Linked DNA regions of Homo sapiens: region 2 is linked to region 1. Evidence: promoter capture Hi-C in 16 types of primary human blood cells and fetal thymus (Javierre and others, 2016). All regions are on one chromosome and are shown on one strand. The core of a region is centred on a gene start or on the middle of the fragment in contact, and the rest is flanking DNA. Distances in the headings are between cores, read along the strand shown. Region 1 holds the start of EFNA4 (ephrin A4). Region 2 holds the start of KRTCAP2 (keratinocyte associated protein 2).

Region 1 (5,322 bases), core at 2,823-5,322:
ATCTCTACTAAAAATACAAAAAATTAGCCGGGTGTGGTGGCGGGTGCCTGTAGTCCCAGCTACTCCGGAGGCTGAGGCAGGAGAATGGCGTGAACCAGAGAGGCGGAGCTTGCAGTGAGCTGAGATCGAGCCACTGCACTCCAGCCTGGGCAACAGAGCGAGACTCCGTCTAAAACCAAAACAAAACAAAACAGAAGTGGGGAGAGGATGGTGCAGTAGAAGCTCCCTCAAGGCTAAATGGGGAGAAGAGACCACAGCTTGAAGCTTCACCAGGACCCCTGGAGTCTGATCCTCCTAGATTCTTCTCACTCCTTCCCTCCTTCCCAAGGCCCCACATTAGCCAGTAGGGTCCATGCTCCCAACCCACTTACTCCTCTCCTTGCAGCAGACAGACACCTGGAGCCTCAAGCACTGGCCAGAACTCTCTGGAGTGGGCACCGCTGGGTAGTGGGAAAGTGGGAAAAAGTTAGCACAGGGAGTCACCCCTTTGTATGCCTCAGACTGTTTCAGACCCTCCCAGGTTTTCTTCTCTCCAGGTCCCTGGAAAGCGTTTCCTTACTTTGGGGCCACACCCATGTATCAGGCCCCATCCAGTCCTCTCATCTCCCTGGCCCCCTTTCCTAGCTCCTCCTACTTTCTCCTTTCTAGACATTTCCCTCCTCAGTCCTGAGTTCAGCCCATACCTCAACCCGATGTACATTAGAGACCCAGCCCCCTCCTCCTTCCAGGCCTCTCCTTCCCCCTCCCTACCCTTCTGGTACACAAGAGGTGTCCAGTGTGCCCTTGGCCACTCACAGATGTAGTAGTAAGTCTCTCCAGGTAAGAACTCAAAGCCGAGGGAGAAGGGTGTGAAGCGCTGAATCTTCTCTGAGAATTGAACATGGCCAAAGGGCAGGGAGCACACCCAGCGCTTGTAGGCCCGGGGGCCCTCTGCCTGGCAGGACTCATAGCCTGGCCAGTCCACCATGTACAAAGCAAACGTCTCGGGGCCCTCAGGGGGCCCTGGGCCTTCGTAGTGGGGGCAGACAATGTCTAGGTAATCGTTGAGGCCCAGCTCCACCACGGCGTCTCCTCGAAGCAACCTGCAGGCATAACGCAGGGGTGGGCTGAGGAGTGGAGGGCACCACGCCATGGCCATGGATGCCAGAGACACCCCTTCTCAGAGGCCCCTGCCAGCCTCTCCTCCACCCATGTGCGATGGAGCAGCTCAGGAAGGCCCGAGGTTCCCAGACTGACAACTCTTGAGAGACAAAGAGAGTGCAAGAAATGGATGAGATGATCGATTCACAGGTTCCGAGAGGCTAAGACCTGCAGTGCCCATAACCACACAGCTTAGATGTGAGAAGGAGGGTCACCACACCCTGTCCTACAGGCTGGAGCTGCCACACACCTCTCTAGCTCCAGTGCCCAACACTCAATGTGGTATAGCACCAGGCTTGATCAATGTCAGGTGGATGGATGCTGTGAAGAAGCTGGGCAGAGAGGCAGGAGGTACAGTTGCACACAGTGCAGCTGCAGACACAGAGGTGGAAACAGGGGTTGGGAAAGGTCTCCTCAAACAGATATAAAGTGAGGAACACTGTCCTTTAGACTGACTTCAACCCAAGGGTGAAAAGAATGTCACGGTAAAAAAAGAATGAGGGAGGCCAGGTGTGGTGGCTCACATCTGAATCCCAGCACTTTGGGAGGCCGAGGTGGGAGGATCGCTTGAGGCCAGGAGTTCAAGACCAGCCTGGGCAACATGGTGAGACTGTCTCTACCATAAATAAATAAATAGGCTGGGCGCGGTGGCTCACGCTTGTAATCCCAGCACTTTGGGAGGCTGAGGCGGGCGGATCATGAGGTCAGGAGATCAAGACCATCCTGGCTAACACGGTGAAACCCCGTCTCTACTAAGAATATAAAAAGAAAACTAGCCGGGCGTGGTGGCGGGCACCTGTAGTCCCAGCTACTTGGGAGGTTGAGGCAGGAGAATGGCGTGAACCCGGGAGGCGGAGCTTGCAGTGAGCCGAGATTGCGCCACTGCACTCCAGCCTGGGAGACAGAGCGAGACTCCATCTCAAAAAATAAATAAATAAATAAATAAATAAATAAATAAATAAATAAATAAAGGCCATGAGTGGTGGTGCACTCCTGTAGTCCCAGCTACTTGGGAGGCTGAGGCGGGAGGATCCTTAGAGTCCGCAAGTTCCTGTAGTGAGCTATTATGCCACCGCACTACAGCCTGGGTGACAGAGCAAGACCCTGTCTCTAAATTCTAAAAATTAAAAAAAAAAAAAAAAAAAGAATGAGGGAGTGGGTGCTAGGTGCCTCCCTTTTTTGGCCAGGAGGAGCAAGTGCCAGGCATGGGGGGAGTCCACATACTACCCAGTCTTCAGTCTTCTCAGGACTCCCTTCCCCACCTCTTGGGAGCTGCCTGGGGAAGCCAGCACAGGTGGGAAGGGCTGGAAGGGGCTGCTCCCCACAGTACTGAATGCTGCATGAACCACCCCCCATACCACAAACACAGCGAAGCATGACTTAGGAAAAGCCTCCAGTGGGTGGTCCAAGGACGACCTGTATCAGTTCTGATTAGAAATGAAGATTCCTGGGCTCAGCCAGCCCAGACTTACTAGAACGCAAGCTGAGCAAGGACAGGGCCTTGGTAAGTTTTGTTCTACTGCATCCCCCGTGCCTGGAAAAGTGCCCAGCACAGGACAGTGTTCAATAAATATTTGTGGATTGAATGAATGAGCCAGAAACCTTAAGATTGGGGGGTGAGAAACCTGAATTTTTAACAGGTCCTCCAAGTGATTCAGAAGCTTTGGTCTGTGACAGAGATAGAGAATTCAGAGTCCAAGGACAACAAAAGCTCTTATCACTTGTTATTGGTATTGTAATGACCTGTCTTTATGCAGGCTCTCCTGCCTGCGCCTGTTCTCCAGAGAGTCTGTGGAATCCCAGAGGGCAGGGTCTTGATCTTCTCATCTATATAGTTAATCCCCTGCAACCTAGCACAGGGCCGGGCACACACAGTATGTGTTTAATAAATAAATGTTAGTGAGTGAAGAAATGAATAGTCACAGATTGTCTCAAGTAGAAAATCAGAAAGAAAAACAGATAGGAAATAGGAGAGGCAGGGAGACTTGGGGAGGGGGATGGAAACAGTAAAATATACTAAGGTTCAAAGGCAGGCAGCTCAGGAGAGAGAAAGAAATAATAGTTTATATCTGTACAGCCTGAGCCTCTTTCACATACATGACCTCACTTACCCTGCCAGACTTCCCAGGGTACTAGGTATTATTAGCCCATTATACAGGTGAGATAAATGAGGTTAGGAAGGTCACGAGACTTGCCCAGAGGTGATTCGGCTAGAAGGGCAGGGCTGACACTGGAAAGAAACAGAAGGACCAATAAAGACAGAGATGAAAGCAGAGATAGCAAATGAGATCAGGAGACAGAGTGAGAGCCAGAGGTGAGACCCAGCGGGCAGGAGAGTAACCCACGCTCTTTCATAAGAGTAAAGCCCCCTCCCTCGCTCTCAAGTTCGTCAGCCACAGCTCCAGCCTGCGGGAGGCTGGGGATCGCCAGGAGAGCAGCGAGGGGGGCGGAGCCCGGAGTGCGGGCAAAGGCCCCCCCAGCTCCATGCTCCAAGACCCCCTAGACAACCCTTGGGGCTGGGGTCTTCTGCCTGCCCCCCAACACATGCGGGCTGTGGGGAGACCCAGGGCGCGCCTCGCCCCTCGCCCCTCCCCCCTCCCCCGCCGGCTCAAACAAAGGAGCCCCGGCGCGCGGCCAGGCTCAGGCGGCGCCGCGCAAAGAGCGGGTGGCGGGCGCGCGCAAAGCCCGGGAGCGCGCAGACTTGGCTGTGCGCTCGCCCGGTTCGGCCCGGCTACCTGGGGTTACTGGAGTTCCAGTAGACTACGTGGCGGAGGCTGGAGCCCCCGCGCAGAGGGGAGCCGAGGAACGCGGCCCAGAGGACAGTCCGCAGCAGGGGCAGCAGCCGCATCGCCCCCGAGGTCCGGTTTGGTCTGGCCTGGCAGGTCCCGGCCCGCTTCACAGTCGAGGAGAGAAAGGTACAAAGTGAAGAGGGAAGTTGCGGAAAGGGGAGTGGGGTACGGAGATTCACTGACCCCGCCCCTGAATAACTTTCCGCCAATGGGAGCGCGTCTCCTCCTCTCCACCCAGCGCCAACTCCAGTTAACCCTCTGTGCACCGCAGCGCGCGCCAGGTTCGCCAAAGCTTCCACTGAGGCTGCACCGCACTGCGAGGGGGCGGGAAGGAAGGACGTATTCCAACAGCAGTATTTTTAGGGAGGTCATCTCTTTCGTGTCTGCTTTAGTGCAGGGTAGACTGCCTTATTAGAAGTTTGGAAGATTTTAAATAAGGGTACATAACCTTTGCCCAGATAGGGGAAAGTGAGGCGCGGGCGAGGATCCATGAAGCCTGTCCAACCACCTTCATGCACTGCCCCGTTTTCTTTGCACATCTAGGGACAGTGCAAGCGGAAGGGACAACACAGCTCTGGGACCACCTTCCCTAAAGAGCCTTAGGTGGCGCGCTAGATGCTCACTTTAGGATTGGCGTCTGTCCCTTGCCGCTCCACACCTTCGTTCCGGGCTGGGGGCCCACGCGGCCCCAGTCCCTAAGACGAAGTAATGAGGTGGTTGCGGCCTGTACAAAGCACCTTTGTTCCCGATCCCTCAGGTGGCGGCGGCGGAGGGGGAGGAGGCAGGTGCGCGGCCTTGGGATCGTGGGAGCAGCCGCCGCCCCGCTCCGCCCTGGCTCCTGGGCTCTGGGAGCATCAGCCAGATCCACTTTTCCCAGCCAATGGTCAGAGTGGGGACGGCAGGTCCAACAGCTTGACAGATTGCGCCGAAAGCCACCCCAGTCTGGGCAGAGGGAAGCTGCGAGCATCCCGGGGACACACGCCGACCCTTTCTGGTACTCCCGCCCCACACAGCCCGCCCTCGTCTGAGGCGGCAGCGTCTTCTGGCGGCCAAACCTGGAACCGCAGCAGGAGCGACCCGGGTTCTAGAAGCAGACAAACTCTGGGGAACGCTCCCAAGATGTCACGTTTATTGCAACTGAGCAGAGACAGGCTGTGCGGACCTTCCTCAATCCCGTCCAACCCCCAGCCCCTCCCCAAGCCCCCGCTGCAACTACGCCGGCAGGTCCGCAGAGTGTTGCTTGACAGCGCGTGGCGGTGCCCGGAGTCTTAAGACACCGCCAGTCTCTGGCGCCTTCAGTCATGGTAGGGGACTCCAGAGGGCACGCCCGCCTCTTGAAGCCCTAAGTCCGGCTTGGAGGCAGCGGAACCTCCGGAGAGGTCAGAGGTAGAGC
Region 2 (5,036 bases), core at 2,407-4,906, 110 kb before region 1:
CTTCCTTGTGGTCTGGGCACATAAGGCCCTAGGGACACAAAGAACAATGTGATGGTCAGACAATGGTGTGGGTAAGGGTGCTATGCTACCACTACAGCAGTTTGGTGCCCTCCTCCACTGGCAAGATGGGAGTGGAGACATCCGCTGGTGGTGCTCCACAGTGCCACCTGGTGGTACATACTGGCATCAAAGAGCCTTTCCTGCAGTCTCCGGGCGGTGCCCATTTCACCAGCATTGCACCTCCCTTCATCTCTCTCATTGGGATATATGGTAATAACAGTAATAATGATGCCAATTAATCTTTGCCTGGTAGTTAATAATTAACCTTGTCCATCTTGTTTACTGCTGTATCTCCAACACCTAGAATAGCACCATGCACATAGGTGCTCAATAAATATTTGTTCAGTGAGTGAATGCACACAGACCTTTTCAGTGTGCAGGTAACACTTTTTAGTGAACAAACATTATCTCACACCATCCTCTCAGCAACCCTTTAGGTATGGACATTGCAGGGCAGATACTACCATCCCCCTACAGGGATGTAAATGAGATGGAGGCCCAAAGTTGTTGAATGATTTGTCCAGTGACTTTGTGACAGATTACAGAGATAGGTGCTTAGCATTGGAAAACCCTTCCCACTTCCTTTTGGAAACCCACAATGCCAGGCACCCCCACCCACCTGCAGCAGCATGTCCCTCCCTCCCCAGGCCTTGGAAGGGCTGGCTCACCTTGGGTCGGAAGGAGAGGGTAGGCAGGGTGGGCTCATGCTGGGCCTTCTGGGTGCCCCAGGGGTGGAAGAGCTTGAAGCACTCATTGCAGAAGGTGGCGCGGCACTCTGTGCAGCCCTTGGTGGCCTCTAGTGGTGGGGGCTTGCACAACTGGCACAGGATGGCACCTCCCACACTCACACTCTGGCGGTACCGCTCCACCACACGCTCCAGGGTCAGGTTCCGGAAAAGCCCTGCCAGACCCCGCTCCCCAAGCTCCACATCACCTTGGCAGGCTGGGCACGGGAACATGATCACTTGGGGGTGCAAAGCACCTCGCTTCCTCCCAGGGTATGTCCCAAAGCCTGTGGGTGAACCAGGGAGGTAGAGGACATGAGAGTTACAGCTGGCTGGGTGTGGGGAAGCCTGTTTAATTAAATTAGATTTTCATTGTGCCAGAGCTCAGCTCTCATTAGAGCCTGCGTAAGCAGTATCTCCACCCCCCAGAAAGACAGACAGATGCCTCTGACCAGTGATGGACTTCTTCCATCTTCCTGATGAATAGCTCAGCGTTCCCATCCCCACCCTACAGGCCCCAGTCCCACCTGACTTAAGCAGCCGGTCCAGGCGGTCTGGCTTGGGGAGAGTTCTGCGGGAGAGGCGGGGGCTGCGGGTGGAAGGGGTGGAGGCAGGAGAGGTGGGCTCGGAGCTGGGGTCCCCACCATGTCCTATGTAGCCCTGCTGGCCCAAGACCTCTCGGGCACAGGCCTGGCACACGTTGTGGGTACAGGGCAGCACCAGTGGCTGCTTGTACATCTCTTGACACACTGGGCACAGCAGTTCCTTCTCCATGTTCTTCATGCTGGTCTGTGGAGGGACCAGGAGGCTAGGTCAGCGCTTGGACACTTAGGCATACCTCAGCAGCCCCTTGGCTGCCCTTGGATACCCTAGGGGTCTGAGGAAGGAGCAAGACAAGCTACCTGCAGCTTTTCCAGAGCACCTGCCTTGGGCTGGTTCACAGACCTTCCCAGACCTCTGTCCCTTGCTTCTCTTTCCCCGCTGCAGAGCTAAAGGCCCAGAGGAGGGACGGTTGGAGCTTGTGCCTGCTCCAGCCTCAAGCCCAATCCCCATTTCTCCAGCTGCAGTAGCCCCAGCTGGCAGCCCCCTCACCTGCCTCCATCCCCCATCTCTGGGCAGCTTGCCCCTGGCATTTTTCTCAAGGACACCGCCCATTCTGCAGCTCCATGCAGACCCCCACTCCCTTCTCTAGCAGCACCCCCATGCCGTGATTCCTCCCGATAGCCAGGCGAGGTTGGCACTCCATCCTGCTCGCTCCATACGTCCTCCTGCCGCAGCTCCGGCCTGCGGCCACTCCAGCCTCCATTCCCCATCCTTCACTTCCCCATCGGTCTTACCAACCCATTCCCCTTCGCCCCCATCAGGCCCTCCCGCCCTCTCCCGCAGCGCAACCCGGTCAGCGGCACCCCCTTCTCCGAACTAGCGGGGGAATCAAGAGCCCCGCCTACTCGCCCCCTCCCCACCGGAAGTCCCCTCCCCCTCTTGGTGGCGAGAGTGGGGGTCCTCAGGCTATGCCCCACCCCCACACCTCACCTTGGTCCCTCTCTTCGCAGCCATCCCGGTCAGGGGCGCAGCTGACACAAAGGAGGGAGGAACAAGGAGGGGGGGAGGAAGTGGTGGGGGGGAACACGGTTGGCACCGCCCCTGGGAGAGCCAGGCACGGGTTGCCATGACAACCGCAGGCTCGGAAGCAGCCCTGAGTGGGGGTGCGTGGGGTGGGGTCTTGGGGAGGGGTCCAAATTGGGAACTGCACTGTGGGGCGGCTCCTACATCATCCCCCACCTGTCCTCAGTTTTCTTGGAAAATATCCAAGCTCACACGTCCCTCTTCTCATAACAGGGCCTTTCCCCTGAAGCCCCAGCCCCGGTGCACTGCTGGAGGCCACCCCAGCCCACCCGCTGCGTCTGGGCTGCTCCTAGCTCCTCCTCACGCTCCAGCACACCGACGCCTTCACGGCACTCACCTCCGGGCTGCTCCCGGGATTACCCTCTCATACCTGCATCCCGACCCTCCCAGCCGTTTCTGCCATCGCTAGCCCCCTGTCTACATCCCAGCATCTTCCTGGATCCCCACCTGTTCCAGGTCCCAGCTTGCCCCAGAACCCTATACGCCCCCTCCCCTTCCCTCGACCCCACCTTAACTCACACTGATGCGGACCAGTGCGTCCATGATGGAAGTGAAGGTCTGCATATCCTCACCCTCTGCCATGGCCCTACCGTGCCCGCCCGCCCCTGGGTGCCCGATCCCGGCTGCGGCTGCGAACCCCGGGCTTAATGCAGGAGCCCAGTGGGGGTGTGAGGAGGGCTGGGGGTTGAGGTGTCACTGCGCATGCTCCCGGGACCAGCCTCGAACAGCGCCCGTCGGGGTAGGGGGTGGGAAATAGTTCTCCCCACGTGGTTCTCGAAAGCCGGTCGGGGGGTTGGGGAATATGGAAAGGTATTTGACGGGGGAGCCATTTCTTACATTCTCATTTTTCATTGGCTCCTAATTTTACTCATATAAAGCGGGGGATTAGTTTCGGAGGAAAATGAGTTCCTGGTTGGGAGCACTAAATTTTAGGTTGGGAGATGTTGAGGCATGGGGCAGGGAGGTTTGAGGAACGTGCACTAGAGATGAAAGAAATGGCAAAGAAGACAGAGATGGGATAGATGCCACAGGCATGGGCCCAATGACTTAAAGAGATAAGTGCACCTTGTACAGAGTGGCAGCAGACGCACCAGGTACGAGGAAAGCCTGAGGACCAGGGCGGTGGCCGAGGATGCCCCCTCGACGCATTATTTCCTCCCTGTCGCAAGAGGGCGCTGCGTCCAGGCACTGAGAGGAAGAAAGAGGAGAACGCGAGGAGTAGCAAGTCCGCGGTAAGCGCTGACGCATGCGCATAGCTAACCGCACCCGGTTCAGCTCGCCTTTCTTGGCCAGAGGCGCCGGTTGGACTCACGGGCGGGGCATGATGGGTAACAGGACCGGTGGGGTCCCCAGGAAGTCCTAGAGGGGGTCGGGGTTTGGGTGGACAAGCTTTCCTCGTCCTCTCCCGACAGAGCTGACGTGTCCTGGGTTCCACCGGGAGCGGGCATTTCCACCGGACGGGAGGGTTCGGGGTGTCCGGGGCTGGGGAATACGTAGGGGTTGCCGCGCGGTGTGGGGAGTTGGGGCGTGTGGCTGCAGTCCCGGGAGTTCTTGGAGGGGGTCGGCCCACCGAGCTTCCGGACCGGCTGATCTGCCCGTAGCTTGCCGGAGGGAGGGCGGAGCCTGACTCTCCGTCCCTTCTCCCATCCCCTCCAGTGGTGGGTACGGGCACCTCGCTGGCGCTCTCCTCCCTCCTGTCCCTGCTGCTCTTTGCTGGGATGCAGATGTACAGCCGTCAGCTGGCCTCCACCGAGTGGCTCACCATCCAGGGCGGCCTGCTTGGTTCGGGTCTCTTCGTGTTCTCGCTCACTGTATCCTCCCTGCAGTTGGAGGGGGCGGGCCACGTAGGCATGTGCCCTTCCCCTTCCCCACACAGCTCTGTCCCCGTTGCACACCCTACTCCTTAACTCCCTCAACCAGGCCTTCAATAATCTGGAGAATCTTGTCTTTGGCAAAGGATTCCAAGCAAAGATCTTCCCTGAGAGTAAGTGAATATTGGAGCTTGAGTATTTGAACTTTCTCCTCTTTAACCTCCTGAAACATGATATTGAATTTCCAGATGCTTAGGTGAAAGGTTGTTAAGGAGAAATATATTTACTGAAGCTGTCTGAAGACAGATGACGCTTTTCGATTCTGCACCTTGTATAGCTCCTGGAGTTGGAGCTGGAAGAGAAGGCCTTTGAAAGCAAGAAACTTTGGTACCTTCTGGCCAGCTCCCAGGGAAGGTTTGAGGGGAACAGGCAAATTTGGGCTGATGTTTTGCATCTATTCGCTGGGAGGCGGTCCTTGTTCCCACCAGAAGAAGCAGCAGGACCAAGTTCACTATGGAGTTCTGATGTGAAGTTAACTCAATATTAGAGAATTCTACTTATTTGAGGGAATTGTGAAGAGCCTAAATACTAGAGGCACCAAATATCTATGGCAGCAGGAATCCTGACCAAATCAGAATAACTGTTAGATTATTTCCTGTTTGGAATAATTCTTGTTCAATTGCTCATGTAATCAAGAATTGATGATTCAGTTATTTATGGAGAATTAAGTTTATAAAGCAAATTAAGTGTCAAGGCCAGATTACTTAAGGAATGCCACGTGCTCAGAAATTCACAGCAGATGCAATCTCATGTA

The links. Contacts are between HindIII fragments. The CHiCAGO score rates a contact against its expected background, and 5 or more counts as called.
Region 2: the fragment with the promoter of KRTCAP2 here is called in contact with the fragment with the promoter of EFNA4 in region 1 in 2 of 17 cell types (megakaryocytes and endothelial precursors); the score reaches 5.3 in megakaryocytes.

Annotation. Positions count from the first base shown.
Region 1 is chr1:155,062,490-155,067,811 of GRCh38, reverse strand. It overlaps EFNA4 (ephrin A4), which reads right to left and starts at 4,072. Exons shown (of 4, transcript NM_005227.3): 1 at 3,876-4,072; 2 at 796-1,082; 3 at 372-440. The coding sequence starts at 3,988. It overlaps ADAM15 (ADAM metallopeptidase domain 15), which reads right to left. Exons shown (of 23, transcript NM_207197.3): 23 at 5,037-5,322. The coding sequence ends at 5,310. It overlaps EFNA4-EFNA3 (EFNA4-EFNA3 readthrough), which reads right to left and starts at 4,072. Exons shown (of 5, transcript NM_001407761.1): 1 at 3,876-4,072. The coding sequence starts at 3,988. It overlaps DCST1-AS1 (DCST1 antisense RNA 1), which reads left to right and starts at 3,821. Exons shown (of 4, transcript NR_040773.1): 1 at 3,821-4,055. It also overlaps ADAM15-EFNA4. RefSeq lists an enhancer at 2,620-3,121 and silencers at 3,612-3,761, 4,052-4,201, 4,582-4,671. The HindIII fragment of the contact is 1,420 bases long and covers 2,804-4,223 here.
Region 2 is chr1:155,171,924-155,176,959 of GRCh38, reverse strand. KRTCAP2 (keratinocyte associated protein 2) reads left to right here and starts at 3,656. Exons shown (of 5, transcript NM_173852.4): 1 at 3,656-3,739; 2 at 4,068-4,222; 3 at 4,332-4,395. The coding sequence starts at 3,736. It overlaps TRIM46 (tripartite motif containing 46), which reads right to left and starts at 3,111. Exons shown (of 10, transcript NM_025058.5): 1 at 2,931-3,111; 2 at 1,313-1,574; 3 at 729-1,072; 4 at 1-28. The coding sequence starts at 2,993. RefSeq lists silencers at 2,573-2,867, 3,037-3,126 and enhancers at 2,876-3,384, 3,457-3,506, 3,707-3,806, 3,385-3,893, 3,997-4,276. The HindIII fragment of the contact is 8,946 bases long and covers 1-3,802 here.